Linked DNA regions of Homo sapiens: regions 1, 2, 4 and 5 are each linked to region 3. Evidence: promoter capture Hi-C in human tissues and cell types (Jung and others, 2019). All regions are on one chromosome and are shown on one strand. The core of a region is centred on a gene start or on the middle of the fragment in contact, and the rest is flanking DNA. Distances in the headings are between cores, read along the strand shown. Region 1 overlaps ZNF816-ZNF321P (ZNF816-ZNF321P readthrough). Region 2 overlaps ZNF320 (zinc finger protein 320). Region 3 holds the start of ZNF611 (zinc finger protein 611). Region 4 overlaps LOC137778871 (a long non-coding RNA gene). Region 5 holds the start of LOC105372453 (a long non-coding RNA gene).

Region 1 (3,792 bases), core at 25-2,524, 220 kb before region 3:
TTCCTACTGAAAGGCAAACAGCTTCTGGCTCTGAGGGGCTAGTCTAATGCTAAAGAAAGTGTCTTTCAGGTCTAAGCCAGAGAACCAGCTGTCCTCAGCTGGCAGCAACCTTAACGTGTACGGGTTAGGTACTGTTGGATGTAAAGTCACTGTAGCTTGATTGACTAAGTGCAAGTCCTGTACCGGCCTGTAGTCATTGGTCCCTGGCGTGGGAACAGGCAGGAGGGGAGTGTTCCAGGGAGACTGACAAGGGACTGTAATTCTAAAGGCTCTCAGGCTCTTGAGATGGACCTGGATACTTTCAAGATCTTCTCTGGGGACCAGGTACTGTTTTTGCCTGACTGGCTGGGCCCTACGCTTAACTTCTATAAGTACCAGGGCTTGGTTAACTGCCATCCCTGGAGGGTTGTCTTCTGTCTACACCCTTGGCCACCGCTTAGCCAGAGTTGGTCTTATCTCTTGGCCTGGCTCAGTTAAAAGAAGTCTCCATTCCTCTTCCTGGGGGACTGTAAGGGCCATAATGACTCCCGTTCTGGGTAACCTTAGCTGTAAAGAGCTGTGCTCTGTAGAAGAGACGGTGGCTCTCAGCTCGCTAAGCAAGTCCTTTCAAGTCCTTTCAAGTCAGGCATGTACAAGAACTGGTGAATCACTTTATGTCTTCCTACAGTACAAGTCTGGGGCAACAGAAAGCTTGCTTTGATAAAACTCCCATGGCTCCGATTATAACAATAGTCTTTTTGGAAAGGGGGGCAACCGGGGCGGTTACTACTGAATGTTCAGCACTGGTATCAATACGAAAATCAATGTCTTTGCCCCTAACTGTCATCTTGACCATGGGCTCCTTGGGGGCAGTTGAGCCTGGTCCTCCTCAGTTCAGTAACTCTTCTGCTATATTGAACAGGGCTCCTTCTGGGGCCTCCTGCTCTGAGCCACCTTGTTTTCCTTTTAGCTGAGGGCACTTGTCCTTCTAATATCCTATTTCTTTACAGTAAGCACACTGGTTACACTGCAAGTTCGGATGGCCAGGCTAAGTATCTTTCTGGGGCACATGCCTACCTGGTAGCACTCTCAGAATCCATGTCGCCCAAGCTGGCTGGAGTACCCAGCAGGGATGCTCCAAAGGGCAGGCCTAAGTCACCTAAGGGGTTGCCTCGACCTTCTGTTAATTACCTCGCTTCCAAGTCAGGGAACCAAGAAATGTAGCATGACGAGCCGCAGACAGTACCTCTCAGACAACGGATTAAAGAAGGAAGTGGCTTTATTCGGCCCAGCGCATCAGAGGACTCGTGTCTCAAGAACTGAGCTCCCTGAAAAAGAAATTCCTGGCCCTTTTAAGGGCTTACAGCTCTAAGGCATCCACGTGAAAGGGTCATGATAGATCAAGCAAGTGTGGGGAATGTGACTTGACACTACGTGCATCAGCTAACAGAACAGAAACTTTTGCAATGCTTCTTCATACAATGTCTAGAATTTACAGATAACATAAGTAGTTTAGGTCAGGGGTTGGTATTATTATTATTTTTAACCACCGGGGCCAGGTGGTAGCACCAAGGTCGTCTGGCTATTTATCTTACTTCTGTTTCTTTCTAACTTTTTGCTTTCTTCCTTTCCTCCTGTCTTATAAACTAGGCAAGGGGGAGGGAGGAAGGCAGCAGGAGAAGTGGTGGTCTGCTTCCTACCTCAGCCTCCAGAGTAGCTGGGACCACAGCTGCGTGCCACCACACCACACTAATTTTTGTGTTCTTCGTAGAGATGGGCTTTCGCCATGTTGCTCAGGCTGGTGTCCAACCCCAGAGCTGAAGGGATCCAGCTGCATCGGCCTCCCAAAATGCTGGGATTACAGGCATGCTGTTTTATCAGATTGCTATTATAATAGGATGGGACCCACACTCAATAATACTTACAATGGCACTGGTGATTCTTATCTGTGTCCAGCATTAAACATCAAGGAAGTTTCCTCCATGTTGAGAGCTGAGATCAGTCTGTGATCCACAGGGAGGTGAGGGGGCTGTGCTCTGCATGGAGTTTGGTTAGGGCTAGATCTGTGCCCTGAAGATCTGTGTCCTGCTGCAGCGTGTGTGTGGACTTTTCCAGGAGGGGAGCAAGATCTGAAAACGGGTCAAAATTACATTTGTAGGTCTTCCTGTGGAACTTTCTTATCTCTGCATGGTCTCTGGTGCAGTGGGTAGCAAAGGACCATCTTTCTCTCGGGTGAGGTTTCCCCTGTGTGTGTGTTTTGTCACAGGAAAGGAGTCAATGGTTTCTAAATATTAAATCTCTTGCTTTTTTAACATACAGGATTTCCAAAGACTCATGTTACGTGAGGAAGCCACCAAGAAGAGCAAAGAAAAGGAGCCAGGGATGGCTCTTCCTCAGGTAAGTGATATTCCTTGGTGGATTCTTCTGTCTCTTTCCTTTCTGAAGTGCCAGGTATTGTAGTAGCCAATCTTCTCTGAGTGTGAAGCATTCTACATCACACGTTTGCTCGCACTCACCCGTGTCTTTTCTCAGTCCCTCTCATCTTCACTTAAATTCCATCTCCTATAACCTAGTGACATGAGCTTGGGAAGAGGCTCCACTGGGCATGGTCCTGGGAAGGGCTCACACCAGACATGGATGGAGATGGGGTGTGGGCCCCATGGTGTCAGTGATGTTGGGCAGCAGGGATTGTTCAGGGGCCACATCTGGATGCATGTTTAGCTCTTTGTGGACCAGATCAGAGAAACTGTATATGAAAGTCATACATTAATGTTCACTGGTTAATCTGGTAAATTCTGGAAGAGGAGACAAACTAGGGGAGATATTTTGTGTCTGATTTTGTAATGCATTTGAAGCTACACTAGTGAGTCAATATGTCTCTGACGCCAAACTTTTGTTTTAAGAGACACGGTGTCACTCTGGGGCCCAGTCTGGAGTGCAATGGCACAATTCTAGTTTACAGCAGCCTCGAACTCCTGGGCTTAAGTGGCCCTCCCACCTGAGCTTCCCAAATTGCTGGGATTACAGGTGTGAGACAGCCCAGCAGGACTCTGCACTTTCAATGTCTTAGAATAGAATGGAAAGCGGATATAGATACCAGTAATAGAGTTAGCTTTATTCCATCATTGACTTCAAATTATGAAATCAATATAAATATCTAACTGCAGGGGATTCTTTAAATCATTCTCAGCACTTTGACCCCACAGAGACTTTTTTTTTGTTTTTTGTTTTGTTTTGTTTTTTTTACAGGGACTCTGATGAAGCAAACATTTTAGGTAAAAATGATTATAAGTTTGCTCTGACATAAGAGCACAACTTACGTCGTTAGAGAGGATGGAGCCATTCTTTTTCTACCCATTATTATTAAGTAATTCTTTTATTTTAAACATCACATGATGTATATATGTGTTGTGTAGTAAAAGTCCAAAGAAAAGTGCACTTATGCATCCCCTTTCCTGTCCAGCCTTCCACCCATTCCCATGTCTCAGTGGGGAATCGCTGTTGAGAGTTCTGTGGCAAGTCGGCGCAATCCTTTAGAAATGTATTCATATACCGTTATGAGATTTTAGAAAAAATTATTTGATGAATGGGGTTTTTTTTTTTTTTTTTTGCATGTTTTTTGAGACAGGGCCTCCCCGCCTGGAGTGTAGTGGCACATTGCAACCTCTGGCTCTCAGGTTCAAATGAGTCTTACGCTTCAGCCAACTGAGTAGCTGCATTTACAGATGCGTGCTACACTCCTGGCTAATTGTTGTGTTATTAGTACAGATGGGGTTTCACCATGTTGGCCAGGCTGGTCTCGAACTTTTGGCC
Region 2 (3,757 bases), core at 1,119-3,618, 150 kb before region 3:
TATTGATTTTGAAATGAAAAGCTTCATGATGTAGCATCTGGACTTTCACTGTCCCCTTTGTTTAGATGTTCTGCGTTCTTCATGATACCTCAATGTGGGTTCCAGAACTAAAGTAGGCATAAAACCTTATGGCAAGCTGGGCATGGTGGTTCATGCCTGTCATCCCAGAACCTTGGGAGACTGAGGTGTGTGGATCACTTCAGGTCAGGAGTTTGAGACCAGCCTGGCCAACATGGTGAAACCCTGTCTCTACTAAAAATACAAAAATTAGCCGGACGTCATGGTGCACACCTGCAATCCCAGCTCCTAGAAAGGCTGAGGAGAGAGAATTGCTTGAACCCAGGAGGCCAAGGTTGCAGTGAGCCGAGAACACACCGCTGCACTCCAGCCCAGACGACAGAGCAAGACTGTCTCAAAAAACAAAAACAAAACCTTATGGTAGACTTTAAACATATCCAGTTCCCTGTTTGCTTCTCCTGTGCTTTCAACTCATTAGTTCTTGGAAGATAGCCCGATGTCCACATATTACATATTACAGTGCTCCAACAGCATTCAGAATGAGGCAGTCAGTGGAGGAATTTGTGAAATATTTTCCTAGATCCACCTGTAATGTCTTCTTTCCTACAGAAATATAGGGCTGGGACTCTAGAAAAGCTCCAGCACATCATGGTCCTTTCTTTTTATAAGCACGAGTCTCTTTCTGACCTGTTATCTCCATGTTGGAGCAAGGGAAAGAGCCCTGGACTGTGGAGAGTTAAGTGAAAATAACAAAAAACTCCAGATGGGTGGGAATGTATTACAGGTGTAAACGCAGGTAAGAGCTCAGATGGGCAGAGTGGAAGCTCCACCTTCAAATAGTGTGTGGGGAAACTCTCTGCAAGTGGGAGAATTCTGTGGCAAAAGAAAAGTTTCAATCCTGAGATCTCTGAAGGGACATCTTTCTTTGCCCTCACTTATCCCTCTGCTCTTTCCTTATTTACTTCTTTTCTTTTCTTTTGTTTTGTTTTTTCTTTTCCTTCCTTCCTTCCTTCCTTCCTTCCTTCTTTCTTTCTTTTCTTTCTTTCTTTCTTCTTTTCTTTCTTTTTCTTTTGATAGTTTCACTCTTTCATCCAGGCTACAGTGCAGTGGAACGATCTTGGCTAACTGCAGCCTCTGCCTTTCAGGCTCAAAGGATTCTTGTGCCCCACCTTTCTTGGAGGCTGGGACTGCAGGCGCTCACCACCATGCCCAGCTCACTTTGTGTTTTTAGTAGAGATGGGGTTTCACCATGTTGTTCAGGCTGGTCTCAAACTCCTTATCTCAAGTGATTCACCTGCTTCGGCTTCCCAAAATGCTGGGATTACAGGCGCGAGCTGCCATGCCCAACCATGGTTATTCTTTTAAATAGTTTTGTCTTTTAGTTCTTAGTAAACATAAGTGGTTTAAACATGATTCCAGTGTGAATATAACAACCACATTAGTGTCCATTCCGTTCAGTACGCAGAAGTGAAGTGCGTTGTATTGATATATGGGGAGAGGTTATTGTTGCAGGTATGTTAAACATCTTAAACTTATAGCACAATAATGAAGCTTAAAATTTCCATAACCTGGCCAGGTGCAGTGGCTGACACCTGTTATTCCAGCACTGGGATGCCGAGGTGGGCAGATCGCCTGAGGTCAGGAGTTCAGAACCAGCCTGGGTAGCATGATGAAACTTCATCTGTACTAAATTTACAAAAATTAGCCAGGCACAGTGGTGGGCAGCTGTAATCCCAGCTACTCAGGAGGCTCAGGCAGGAGAGTCACTTGAACCTGGGAGGTGGAGGTTGCAGTGAGCCAAGATCGCACCATTGCACTCCAGCCTGGGAGACAGAGTGAGACTCCATGTCAAAAAAATAAAAATAAAAATAAAAAAATTCCATAACCTACAAAAACTACTTCTTCTCCAGTAGAACTTTTTTATTTTTGTCAGAGTTATTTTTGTGTATGTTGCATTTCTGTTAACATATATGTACAGTGTTTTTTCATACATTTTCATTTTTAATAATATGAAAAAAAGTTTAGTTATGAAGAAAAGGTATACGTATGCGAGTTTCTGTATCTGTCCTTTTATTAATTAATTAATTTATGTATTTATGAGACAGAGTTTTGCTCTTGTCACCCAGGCTGAAGTGCAGTGCTGCAATCTTGACACCACAACCTCCACCTCCCCGGTTCAACCAATTCTCCTGCCTCAGCCTGTCGAGTAGCTGGGATTACAGGCATGCGCCACCACACCCAGCTAATTTTGTATTTTTATTGTTTTATTTATTTATTTATTTTTTTGAGACAGAGTTTCACTCCTGTTTCCCAGGCTGGAGTGCAATGGTGCAATCTCAGCTCACTGCAACCTCCACCTCCCAGGTTCAAGCAGTTCTCCTGCCTCAGCCTCCTGAGTAGCTGGGACTACAGGTGCTGGCCACTATGCCTGGCTAATTTTTGGTATTTTTAGTTCAGACGGGGTTTCACTGTGTTAGCCAGGATGGTCTCGATCTCCTGACCTTGTGATCCACCCACCTCAGCCTCCCAAAGTGCTGGGATTACAGGCATGAGCCACCACGCCTGGCCTAATTTTGTATTTTTGGTAGAGACAGGGTTTACTCCTTGTTGTCCAGGCTGGTCTCGAACCCTTGACCCCAGGTGATCCGCCTGGCTTGCCCTCCCAAAGTGCTGGGATTATAGGCATGAACCACCATGCCCAGCCTACCCGTTTTTTTTATTTACCTTTACTGGAGAACTTTATATATGTTTGTGGGTTGGAGTTATTCTTTAGCCTTCTGTCATTTATTTATTTTTTCTTTGAGACACAGTCTCAGTCTCTCACCCAGGCTAAAGTGCAGTGGTGTGATCTTGGGTCACTGCAACCTCCACTTCCCAAATTCCAGTGATTCTCCTGCCTCAGCCTCTCAAGTAGCTGGGACTACAGGCGAGTGCCAACATGCCAGGCTAATTTTTTTGTATTTTTTTTTAGCAGAGATGGGGTTTTACCTTGTTAGCTGGGATGGTCTTGATCTCCTGACCTCAGGAATCTCCCACCTCATCCTCCCAAAATGCTGGGATTACCATGCCCTACATGTCTCAAGGTTTTTAAAACATGTTAGTGCTATTAGATGGCTTCAAGTATTGCAAGATTTATAGTAGAGACCCTAAACATCCTTTGTTTAATAAGATTTGTCAGCCTGTGGTGATGTTGATGATGAGATGCTCCTGTTCCTTTCTCTGTCATTTCACTGTTAGAAATAGCTTAGACTGACTGGCCACGGTGGCTCATGCCTCTAATCCTAGCACTTTCAAAGACCAAGGTGGGTAGATTGCTTGAGGTCAGGAGTTTGAAAACAGTCTGGCCAACATGGTGAAACCTGGAATGTACTAAATGCCAAAAATGGGCCAGGCGCAGTGGCTCACACCTAAAATCCCAGCACTTTGGGAGGCTGAGACAGGTTGATCACTTGAGGTCAGGAGTTCAAGACAAGCCTGGCCAATATGGTAAAACCCCATCTCTACTAAAACCACAAAAACCAGCTGTGCATGGTGACTTGCGCCTATAATCCCAGCTACTTGGGAGGCTGAGGCAGGAGAATCACTTGAACCCATGAGGTGGAGGTTGCAGGGAGCTGAGATCACGCCACTGCACTCCAGCCCGGGCAACAGAGTGAGACTCTGGGCTGAGGAGGGAGAATCAGTTGAGGTAGGAGAATCCTGCCAGTACACTCTAGCCTGGGTGATAAGAGCGTGACTC
Region 3 (3,522 bases), core at 165-2,664:
GCATGGTGGCGCACGCCTGTAATGCCAGCTGTTCCCAAGGCTGGGGCAGGAGAATCGCTTGAACCCAGGAGGCAGAGGATGCATTTAGTCGAGATCTCGCCACTGCACTCCAGCCTGGGCAACAGAGAAATACTCTGTCTCAAAAATAATAATAATAATAATAATAATAATAATAATAATACAAGAAAGTAATAGATCTCTTCCATAAATGTGCTAGGACAACTATCTGGATATCCACATGGAAAAGAATAATGTTGGATCCCTATGTCACACAATCAAAAATTTTATTTGCGAAAGTTTTTTTTAAAAAAAAAGAGAGAGAGAGAGACAAGAAAGGGAGACCGCGGCAGTGGGCGTTATTTTGTCGCTCAGGCTGGCTTGGAACCCGAGGCTCAGGGATCCTCCCGCCGCTGCTTCCTGAGTAGCTGGGACCTCAGGCTCCCGCCCCCGCGCCTCTGCTGTCTTTAAGCAGCAGGTGGTGACCTCACTCCTTCTCGGCCTGAGCACTCCGTCCGGCATTCCAGGCGGTGGCTTCAGGGAAGTCTCTGAAGCTGAGCACAGGGCGGAGTCTCCTTCCGGAGTGAATGGACAATAGAAAGGGAGAGGATATCTATCTGTTCTGTGGGACCTCAGCATGACATGGTACATACCGCCCAGGCAGGGCTTTGCATTTCACATTCTAGTTTGTATCCCTGTTCCAGACAATTACAGTGTAGCAGGACGAGTCGCAGACAAAACCTCTCAGACACCGAGTTGTAGAAGGAAGGGCTTTATTCAGCTGGGAGCATTGGCAAGCTACTGCCTTAAAATCCAAGCTCCCCGAGTGCACAATTTCTGTCCCTTTTAAGGGCTCACAACACTAAAGATTTCAGATGAAAGGATAGTGACTGATTGAGCAAGCAAGGGATACGTGACAGGGGCTGCATGCACCGGTGATCAGGGAGAGAGAGAACAGGGCAGGAGTTTCACCGTGTTCTTCTATACAATGTCTGGAATCTATGCCTAACATCAGCTTCTAAATCATAAGTTGATTTTTAACTACTGGGTTTAGGCCAGGCGGATCCAGGCCTGGTTTCGGGCCTGGCGCGGGGCTGCCTGTCTTTGGTTTTACTTCCTGTTGTTTTTACTGACTATAAAACAATATAAAACAATGTCAGAGGGTCTCTCTCTTCTCTCAACAGGGCTTTTGTATCATGCCTCAGACTTTCTGGCGCTCTCGCCTCCAAAACCTGAAAACAGAGACGCTGGGAGCGAGGCTGAGAGACGCGCAGATCCCGCCCCGGCCCTGCCCTCTGCCGGTTCTAAAAGGCAAGGTCTCTCCGCCTCGCGCCCCGCCCCTACCTCGCCCAGGCCCCGCCTACCTCCCACTTCCCGCCCAGGCCTGGCTTTTGTCCTGCGCGCGCAGATTAACGCAAACCCGGAAGCGGATCGGGTGGAGTGTAGGTCATATCGCCGCGGTGAGTTTTGCTCTGTGTTGTATTAAGTCTGCGCTAACTAGGTTCCCAGGGCTTCTGTCCCTGGGACGTGGGGTCCCCACAGACCTGGAAATTCTCCGGCGTCTTCCTTTGCCCAGAGCAAATTGAGACATCCCCGTGAGAGCCCGAGGGTCGCTTCCTTTTGGGTTTAAAGTCGTCCTGAGGCTGGTCTCGTCCCCGGTCTTTCTGCTATAGGTCAATGTATACACTTTCTGTTGCGTAGTTTTCCTGCTGAAAACCTTGTTCTGACTCCTCGCGCCCCGCGCTTTTTAAAGTCTTCACCCGCGATGTGGATTCTTGCCCAGGGCGCCTCCCAGCCTCCCCCTCCTCAGCCCCGGGAGCGCCGCGCCGCAGCCCCAGTCCCGGGGAGGCCGAGTCCTCTGCCAGGTCCTGGGATCCTGCAGACCCCATCCTGGTCCTAAGGCGCCGTCGCGCCCCCCCCCCCCGCCCCGCACCTTCCTCCTCATGCCGGGGCCTGCTGCTCCCCAGGTCTCCCCTCCGCAGTCACCGCTTTCATTGAACCTGCACTGGGGAGGTCCCAGGGGCCTGTCCTGCGGCACGGGGTATTCTTGCCTGCGGAGCTCCAGGGCGTGGAAAATGCGCTCCTCCGGGATGCAGGCGTCTTACTCCAAACCGTGTTGCGATTGTGTGGGCCAAAGGAATCAGGAGACAGAGAGCAGTAGAAAACCTGAGGCAGAGAAAAGAAGAATAAGAAAGGCCCATAACAGATGGCAAAATAGAGGATTGGTGAGGGATATGCCAAGAGATGGCAGAAGTGAAAAAAAAAAAAAAAAACCTAAGAAAGCAGGAGGAGAAAAGCAACCGGAGAAATGTAGAGAAAGGCTAGATAGATGTACAGAGAGATGAAGGATCACAAGGTAGGGGGAGTGGCAGCAAAGAGGGAGACTCATCAGAGTGAGGGAGAGAGGGAAGGATTTGGAGCCAGGGCAGACAGAGCAGAGTGGTGCTTGTGTCAAGGAGAACAGAGGGAGAACCACAGCAGAGAGGACAGCTGGGATCTGGGGAGACACAGAGTGGGGACAAGGGAGTATATCGGGGAAGATGGAATTTAACAGGGAGAGCAGAGGAGGCGCAGAGATGGGAGAAGAGGCAGAAATAGATGGAGATTGAGGACGATTGAAAGATTGGGGAGAAGGAGCAATAAGAGGTTAAATAAGTTGTGAGGATGGAGGAGAAGAGGTGGAAGAGAAGGAATAAAGGGAAGAAGGGGATGAATAGCAGGAGAGGAGAGGGGTACAAAATGAAGAGCAGAATCCCAGGGAAAAAGAAAAGAAAACAAGAGCTAGAGAGAGAAGGGGAGAATGAGAGATATGTACAGAATTAGGGAGGGAAGCACAGTAATGAAGAAAGAGGGTCTGGACACAGTGGCTCACGCCTGTAGTCTGTAGTCTCCACACTTTAGGAGACTGAGGCAAGGGGATTGCTTGAGTCCAGGAGTTCGAGACCAGCTTGGGCAACATAGTGAGACCTCCCCCCCGCCAAAAAAGTAAGTAAATAACCGGGCATAATGGTGTGCACCTGTACTCCCAGCTGCTCTGGTGGCCAAGCTGGGAGGATGACTTGAGCCCAGGAGGTCCAGGCTGCAGTGAGCTGAGATCATGTGACTACACTGCAGCCTGGTCGTCAGAGCGAGACCTTGTCTCCAAACAAAAAAAAAGGGGCGAGAGACTGGGTTCAGATGAGTGGGTGAGTTCATTGGATATGATTGGTTGTGACATGTTGAGTTCTGTATATATAATCTAATAACTAAAAACTTGTTTAAATTACACAGATGAGATTGAGAATTTTAAAATTCGTATCTATAAGACATGTACATTCTATAAATCTTGGCATCAGAGGTTATGTTCCACTTGGAATCCCTATTTGCCAGAGGGCAGTCACTTATTCAGTTGTGAATCACTGTCTCCCCTTTTCCTAGGATGGGGTAGGACGTGGGTCAGTGAAGTGGGAAAATAGTCACTGTCTGTTGTTACAAAATACATTTAATTAATTAATTAATTAATATTTTGAGACAGGGTCTGACTCT
Region 4 (3,382 bases), core at 58-2,557, 130 kb after region 3:
CCTAGCATTTTGGGAGGCCAAGGCACGCAGATCACCAGGTCAGGAGTTAAAGACTAGACTGGCCAATATGGTGAAATCCCATCTCTACTAAAAAGACAAAAAAAACTTAGCTGGGAGTAATGGCTTATGGCTGTAATCCCAGCTACTCGGGAGGCAGAGGCAGGAGAATTGCTGGAACCCAGGAGAAGGAGGATGCAGTGAGGCAAGATCGTGCTACTGCACTGCAGCCTGGGTGACAGACTGAGACTCCGTCTCAAAAAATAATAATAAAAATAATAAAAAATAAAATACCTTATAATTGGCCAGGTGTGGTGGCTCATGCCTGTAATCCCAGCACGTTGGGAGGCCGAGGCAGGCAGATCACTTGAGGACAGGAGTTCAAGACCAGCCTGGCCAACATAGCGAAATGCCGTTTCTACTAAAAATACAAAAATTAGCCGGGCATGGTGGCCCACACCTGTAATCCCAGCTACTCAGGAGGTTGAAGCAGGAAAATTGCTTGAACCTGGGAGGCGGGAGTTGCAGTGAGTCGAGATCGCACCACTGCACTCCAGCCTGGGTGACACAGTGAGATTGTCTCAAATAACAACAAACAAACAAACAAAACACCTTATAATTTGCAAATAAAAAGTATCTTTTCTAGTTACTTGCAGAATGCACGTAAAGTGAATTTAAAATTCTGCCGTGATAAAAGTTCATCTTATCAATTGGGTCACTCTTGCCACATCCAACTTATACAGGAGGTAAAAATAAACTATTTAGGCAGACAGTAAGGGCAAAAACTCCTCTGCAGAGCTTCCCTTCTAACAAAAAGCTGCCCAAAATATCGTTTTGTTCTAACAAAGAGCAGCCCGAAAAATCGATCTGCAAACATACGTAAGCAAGCTGGAAGCTTGCATGGGGGAAGTCAGCAGCTGTGCCAATAGAAAAGGGGCTACCTTGGGGCTAGGCATGTCCACCATGGAAGCTCCGTCTTTCCTTTTTTGTTAGCACGTGTACAGTAAGAAAGAAATGGGTAACATGGCACAGCTCAGGCAAAGAACCTGCATAATAAAAGATTGGGGAGGGGGCTGCCAGAAATTCATGCCGTATGCAAATGTTACATCTGGTCCTATGTAGATAAGACACTACCTCCCCACCAGCTCATCTATAAAACCCCTACGTTTTGCCACGAATCTGCAAACCATTTTTCCAGGACCTCTCTCTGTAGCAGAGAGCTATTGACTTTCTTTCGCCTATTGAACTTCCACTCTTAACGCCACTCTTGGGTGTCCGTGTCCTCGATTTCCGTGGCCATGAGACAACGAACATCAGGTATTACCCCAGAAAATGAGGCTGCCTCACAACTAAACCAAAGTCAAGAGGACAGATGAAAAATGAACTCAGGATACAAACATTGCTTCAAGAACGTGATTCTCTGAAGTATGGCTGCTGAAACTTCCTGTTGTAACCAGAAACCCCTGAAACCAGCTTTTTTTTTTTTTTTTTTTTTTTTTTTTTTTTTTTTTGGACAGTCTTCTCTGTCACCAGGCTAGAGTGAAGTGGCACAATCTCGGCTCACTGCAACCCATGACTCCCTGGATCAAGCGATTCTCCAGCCTCAGCCTCTGAGGTAGCGGGGATTACAGGCACATGCCAAGATGCCCACTAATTTTTGTATTTGTAGTAGAGACAAGGTTTCACCATGTTGGCCAGGATGATCTTGAACTCCTGACCTTGTGATCCAACCGCCTTGGCCTCCCAAGGTGCTGGGATTACAGGCATGAGCCAACGTGCCAGCCAAGATTTTTCTTTTAGCTGCTAAAATAAATTACCTGGGACTTTAAAAATAGTTTGTGAACGAAGTATCTGAGACAAATCTCAATCAGTTTAGAAAGTTTATCTTGCCAAGGTTAACTGCATGCCCACGACACAGGCTCAAGAGGTCCTAATGTCATGTGCCCAATATGGTCTAGGTAGAGCTTACATTTTAGGGAGTCATGACGTATCAGTAAGTGTCAGATGTACGTTGGTTAAGTCGGGAAAGGTGGAACAACCCAAAGCGGGGTGGGGGGTGGATTCCAGGACATAGGTAAATAAGAGACAAATGGTTGTTTTCTTTGAGTCTCTGATTAGCCTTTTGTACTTTGAGTAATTTTGTTCTCACATATTTTATTTTATTTTGAGATGAGGTCTTGCTCTTTTGCCAGATACTCAGGAGGCTGAGGCAGGAGAATCATCTCAACCCAGGAAACAGAGTTTGTGGTGAGCCAAGATCACACCATTGCACTCCAAGATGTGGTTGGGGAGAAATCCACAAATTTTGGTGATCAGAACTGAGGCATTCTGTGCTCAGTGGCATGAGAGAGTAGGAAAAACACTTTTTTTTTTTTTGTATTTCTTTTTTTTGGCGGGGGGTGGAGTCTTTCTTTGTTGCCCAGGCTAAAGTGCAGTGTCGGAATCTCAGCTCACTGCAGAGTCCACCTCCCGGGTTCGAGAGATTCTTCTGCCTCAGTCTCCCGAGTAGCTGGGATTACAGGCACCCACCACCACACCCGGCTACTTTTGGTATTTTTAGTAGAGACGGAGTTTCACCATGTTGGCCAGGCTGGTCTCAAACTCCCGACCTGAAGTGATCCGCCCTCCTCAGCCTCTCAAAATGATGGGATTACAGGCATGAGCCACCGCGCATGGCCTTTTTTTCCTACTTCAAATAGGCAAGCCAACTATTTGAACAAGCAGAGAGGGCTCTGTGCAGTATCCCGGGCCCCGGTTGCAAAGGAGGAGCAGCCCAGGTTTTCCGATCTCTTGATTAGGTGTTCCAAGTACAGGAAATGGGATGGAACCTGGTAGGTCAAGGGGTAGGTGTATGGAGGCCTCAGATCTTATCTATAGGGACAGAGAATGGAGCGTCAGAAGGAGTCAAGTACAGAATGAGAGACCACAGGGGAAGGAGACCCCTTTGACACAGCCCTCCCTGTTCCAGAGTCAAGAAACCAATGAGGTCACAGAAGCCAGATGACACGGTGTTGCCCATCAGGATAAAGATTCTGCCTTTGTCTCTGAGCTGCAGCATCACTAGAGGACAAAAAAATCAAACTACTACACATCTAAAGAGCAGAGGGGCCTGGCGTGGTGACTCACACTTGTAATTTCAGCACTTTGGGAGGCCGAGGCAGGAAAAACACCTGAGGTCAGGAGTTCGAGACCAGCCTGGCCAACATGGCACAACCCCGTCTCTACCAAAAATGCAGAAATTAGCCTAGTATGGTGGTGATGCATGCCTGTAGTTCCAGCTACTTGGGAGGCTGAGGCAGGAGAATCACTTGAACCCAGGTGGTGGAGGTCGTAGTGAGCTATTGTGCCACTGCACTCCAGTCTATGCAACAGAGTGAGACGCTGT
Region 5 (3,659 bases), core at 588-3,087, 250 kb before region 3:
CAAACAGATACTTTTGTCTTTGACTCCATACTCCATTCCCGTGTTCGTCCTCCTCCATTCAGTCCCAATGTAACAGCAACAGTTTGAGACCAGCCTGGCCAACATGGTGAAACCTCATCTGGACTAAAATACAGGTTAGCTGGGTGTGGTGGCTGGTGCCTGTAATCCCAGCTACTCAGGAGGGTGAGGCAGGAGAATCGCTTGAACCCAGGAGGCAGAGGCTGCAGTGAGCTGAGATCATGTCACTGCACTCCAGCCTGGGTGACAGAGCAAGACTCCATCTCAAAAACATAAAATAAATAACTACTTCTCAAATAAGCTTTGGTAGAATTTTATGAGCTCATATCATTTTTTTTTTTGAGATGGAGTCTCATTCTTTTGCCCAGGCTGGAGTGCAATGGCGCGATCTCGGCTCACTGCAACCTCCACCTCTCAGGTTCAAGTGATTCTCCTGCCTTAGCCTCCCGAGTAGCTGGGACTACAGGCCCCCGCCACCATGCCAGGCTAATTTTTGTATTTTTAGTAGAGACAGGGTTTCACCATATTGGCCAGGCTGGTCTCAAACTCCTGATCTTGTGATCTGCCAACCTTGGCCTCCCAAAGTGCTGGGATTACAGGCGTGAGCCACCACACCCAACCTCACATCATTGTTTTTATCTATGTGTTCAAAATTTTCTCCTTTGACCCCACATTTCATTAGATGTATATATTTTTAACCATTTTAATATAGTTTCTCTATGAAATTTATTGTGTCCAGTTTACATTGAAGACTGCATGCTTTCTAGTCTGTACCACATATTGGAAACACTTTCTAGTACCTGATAAATGATTTTAGGTTGTTTCAATGCATATTTGATAAAGATGTCAAGAATCTATTTTCTTTCTTTCTTTTTTTTTTTTTTTTGAGATGGAGTTTCACTCTTGTTGCCCAGGCTGGAGTGCAATGGCATGATCTCAGCTCACCGCAACTTCCGCCTCCAGGGTACAAGTGGTTCTCCTGCCTCAGCCTCCCAAATAGTTGGGATTACAGGCATGCACCACCACACCCAGCTAATTTTGTAATTTTAGTAGAGACAGGGTTTCTCCATGTTGGTCAGGCTGGTCTCGAATTCCTGACCTTAGGTGATCCACCTGCCCTGGCCTCCCAAAGTGCTGGGATTTCAGGTATGAGCCACCACGCCTGACCCTAGGACCTATTTTCTTTATGCTAACATAAAAATTTAGTTCAAGTAGCCTGTTACTCTACTTTCTTTCCTTATGTCATCTGATAAAATGGTGAACTGTGACCTTCTAAGTAAACATTCTCCTCAAGTTCCTCTGGTCCATAATATTCTTTGCAGATGTTGAAGGATGGGCTGGATTGACTTGGAACCTTGTTTCAGCAGAGCCCACGTGTTCATGAAGAAAACATTTGCTCACAGCTTATTTCTACCACTGCCTCTCTTTCAGTGTTTTAAAAACCTATAGCTATGTGTTCACAATTGTTTTTATTTTGAATGTATTACTGTCATTTTTCTGGGAAAATATTTACATGTTTAGGATTCGTGCCATCAGAATTTTGGACATTGAAAGAGACATTTCTTTTGCTTGGGGATATAAAAGATGGTCCTGGAATATTTTTCCTTTTTTTGAAATGGAGTGTTACTCTGTCACCCATGCTTAAGTACAGTGGCACGATCTTGGCTCACAGCAACCTCTGCCTCTGAGGCCCAAGTGATCCCCCCCAGTCAGCCTGCCAAATAGCTGGGACCACAGATGCACACCACCATGTCTGGCTAATTTTCTGTACTTTCGTTAGAGATGGAGTTTCACCATGTTGCCAGGTTTGTCTCAAACTCCTGGGCTCAACTGACCCACTTGCTTCAGCCTTCCAAAGTGCTGGAATTACAGGAGTGAGCCACCACATGTGGCCAGTCCTGGAATTTTATAGAGGAAGATGACCAACGCAGCCTGTTGACCCTTCCTGGCCATCACATGAAAATCAGCGACTCCTCCTTCTTACAAAACTCAGAGCTTCTCAGGATAACTTGGTGAAACGTCCCCCGCTGTGAACCTCACTGAGCCCACCTGTAATATACAGGTGAGGGAGAAGACCAGAAAAGCTCAGAGTGACACTGACCCCTGAAATGATGGGCACAATGGAGTGTGTGGCTTTTCCTTTAGGACAGGGAGGTGCTTAGCTGTAATTTGAATTTTAAATGGATTTCAGTCCTCCAAAAATGTAAAAAACAAAAGCACAAGAAGGAAAAAATGAGATTAGAATCAAATCACCTTGAACCTTATCATCTCACCGCTTTAGCCCACCTGTATGACTCCACGTCCCCTGCAGGCCTCGCCCCTGAGCTCCACAATTCTGTGTCCAGTTGTCTCTTCAGCTCTCTGCTGGGACATCAAACAGGCATCTCCACCTTCATGTGTCAAGAAGTCATAAGTGACTTCTTGAACCCCCAAACACATTCCCTTGCAGTCCTACACCTCTCAGATGAGGGCGACAGTGTACTTCTGGGAGCTTAGCTGAAACTGACAGCATGTATTTTAAATATGGGAAATAAATTCCACTATTTGTGAGTGTTGTAACTTACAATGTAAAGAGAAAGTTGCATGTATACATGAAAGGAGTGAGGAAATACATCATTTCCAAAATTCTTTTGAGGTGTGGGAGAAAAATGTTTCAAGACCTCGTCCCTAGGGATCTTCACTTCCAGGACCTCTCTGAGGTCATCTCCTGCCTGTGTCCTCCTCACTCCCTCTGCTCCAGCCACGCACACCTCTTTCCTTTTTCTGGGACTGAGGTTGCTTTTGTCTCAGTGCCTTCACCTGAGATGTCACTCTGCCCAGGACTCTCTGGCCCCTCAGCTACAAGTGACAAGCAGTGTTTCATCCCTAAGTCTTTGTTCTGACATTGCTTTCTCTATGGAAACGTTTGTGATCACCCACAGTCCCCCATTTGACATGGCAGCTCCACCTTCACCCCCACCTCTGGTCCATGTTGCCTGTTCTTTGTGATTCTTTTTGCTCCTTCGCTTTTCACTGGATCCTGGTGGGAACAAGTCCCGAAGTGGAGAGCAGAGCCAGAAGGTGGGGCTGTGCTGGGCTGGCGCTGTCTGAGTGGAGCTCAACCCTGGCTTCACATTAGGGTTCTCAGGCATTTTGCAAATACATCTTTTAAGCTGTTTTATCAGAGATTGCTATTATCATAGGATTAAACCCACCCTCAATAATTCTTACAATGGTGCAGGTGATTCTCATCTGTGTCCAGCATTGAAAATCAAGGCAGTTTCCTCCATGTTGAGAGCTGAGATCAGCCTGTGATCCACAGGGAGCTGAGGGGGCTGTGCTCTGCATGGGGTTTGGTTAGGGCCAGATCTGTGCCCTGAAGGTCTGTGTCCTGCTGCAGTGTGTGTGTGGACTTTTCCAGGAGGGGAGCAAGATCTGAAAACGGGTCAAAATTACACTTGTAGGTCTTCCTGTGGGGCTTTGTTATCTTGGCATGATCTCTGGTGTGGTGGGCAGCAGAGGACCATCTTCCTACTGGGTGAGGTCTCCCCTGTGTGTGTGTTTTGTCACAGGAAAGGAGTGAGTGGTTTCTAAACATTAAATCTCTTATTTTTTTTTTTTCACAAACAGGATTGATTTCCAAAAACTCCTGTTACATGAGG

The links. Contacts are between HindIII fragments. The study calls those that stand out against the background at their distance.
Region 1: a contact is called between a fragment that was not itself captured here and the fragment with the promoter of ZNF611 in region 3, in 1 of the 25 tissues and cell types used here (mesenchymal stem cells).
Region 2: a contact is called between a fragment that was not itself captured here and the fragment with the promoter of ZNF611 in region 3, in 1 of the 25 tissues and cell types used here (spleen).
Region 4: a fragment that was not itself captured here is called in contact with the fragment with the promoter of ZNF611 in region 3 in 1 of the 25 tissues and cell types used here (adrenal gland).
Region 5: a contact is called between a fragment that was not itself captured here and the fragment with the promoter of ZNF611 in region 3, in 1 of the 25 tissues and cell types used here (adrenal gland).

The regions. Positions count from the first base shown.
Region 1 is chr19:52,954,611-52,958,402 of GRCh38, reverse strand. It overlaps ZNF816-ZNF321P (ZNF816-ZNF321P readthrough), which reads left to right. Exons shown (of 4, transcript NM_001202473.2): 2 at 2,299-2,376. The coding sequence starts at 2,314. ZNF816 (zinc finger protein 816) reads left to right here. Exons shown (of 4, transcript NM_001202457.3): 2 at 2,299-2,376. The coding sequence starts at 2,314. Among named protein-coding and RNA genes, the nearest start is that of ZNF816, 6.4 kb to the left of the region's middle. The HindIII fragment of the contact is 5,247 bases long and covers 1-3,792 here.
Region 2 is chr19:52,884,264-52,888,020 of GRCh38, reverse strand. The region is part of intron 5 of ZNF320 (zinc finger protein 320); the gene reads left to right. Among named protein-coding and RNA genes, the nearest start is that of ZNF320, 11 kb to the left of the region's middle. The HindIII fragment of the contact is 3,146 bases long and covers 796-3,757 here.
Region 3 is chr19:52,732,936-52,736,457 of GRCh38, reverse strand. It overlaps ZNF611 (zinc finger protein 611), which reads left to right and starts at 1,414. Exons shown (of 6, transcript NM_001161499.2): 1 at 1,414-1,457. It overlaps LOC124904760 (a long non-coding RNA gene), which reads right to left and starts at 2,427. Exons shown (of 2, transcript XR_007067328.1): 1 at 1,998-2,427; 2 at 754-1,664. RefSeq lists enhancers at 999-1,128, 441-1,426 and a silencer at 1,309-1,378. The HindIII fragment of the contact is 18,911 bases long and covers 1-3,522 here.
Region 4 is chr19:52,604,462-52,607,843 of GRCh38, reverse strand. The region is part of intron 1 of LOC137778871 (a long non-coding RNA gene); the gene reads right to left. Among named protein-coding and RNA genes, the nearest start is that of ZNF83, 32 kb to the left of the region's middle. The HindIII fragment of the contact is 6,396 bases long and covers 1-3,382 here.
Region 5 is chr19:52,980,941-52,984,599 of GRCh38, reverse strand. It overlaps LOC105372453 (a long non-coding RNA gene), which reads right to left and starts at 2,391. Exons shown (of 2, transcript XR_936062.3): 1 at 2,305-2,391. It also overlaps the pseudogene ZNF702P. The HindIII fragment of the contact is 6,260 bases long and covers 1-3,659 here.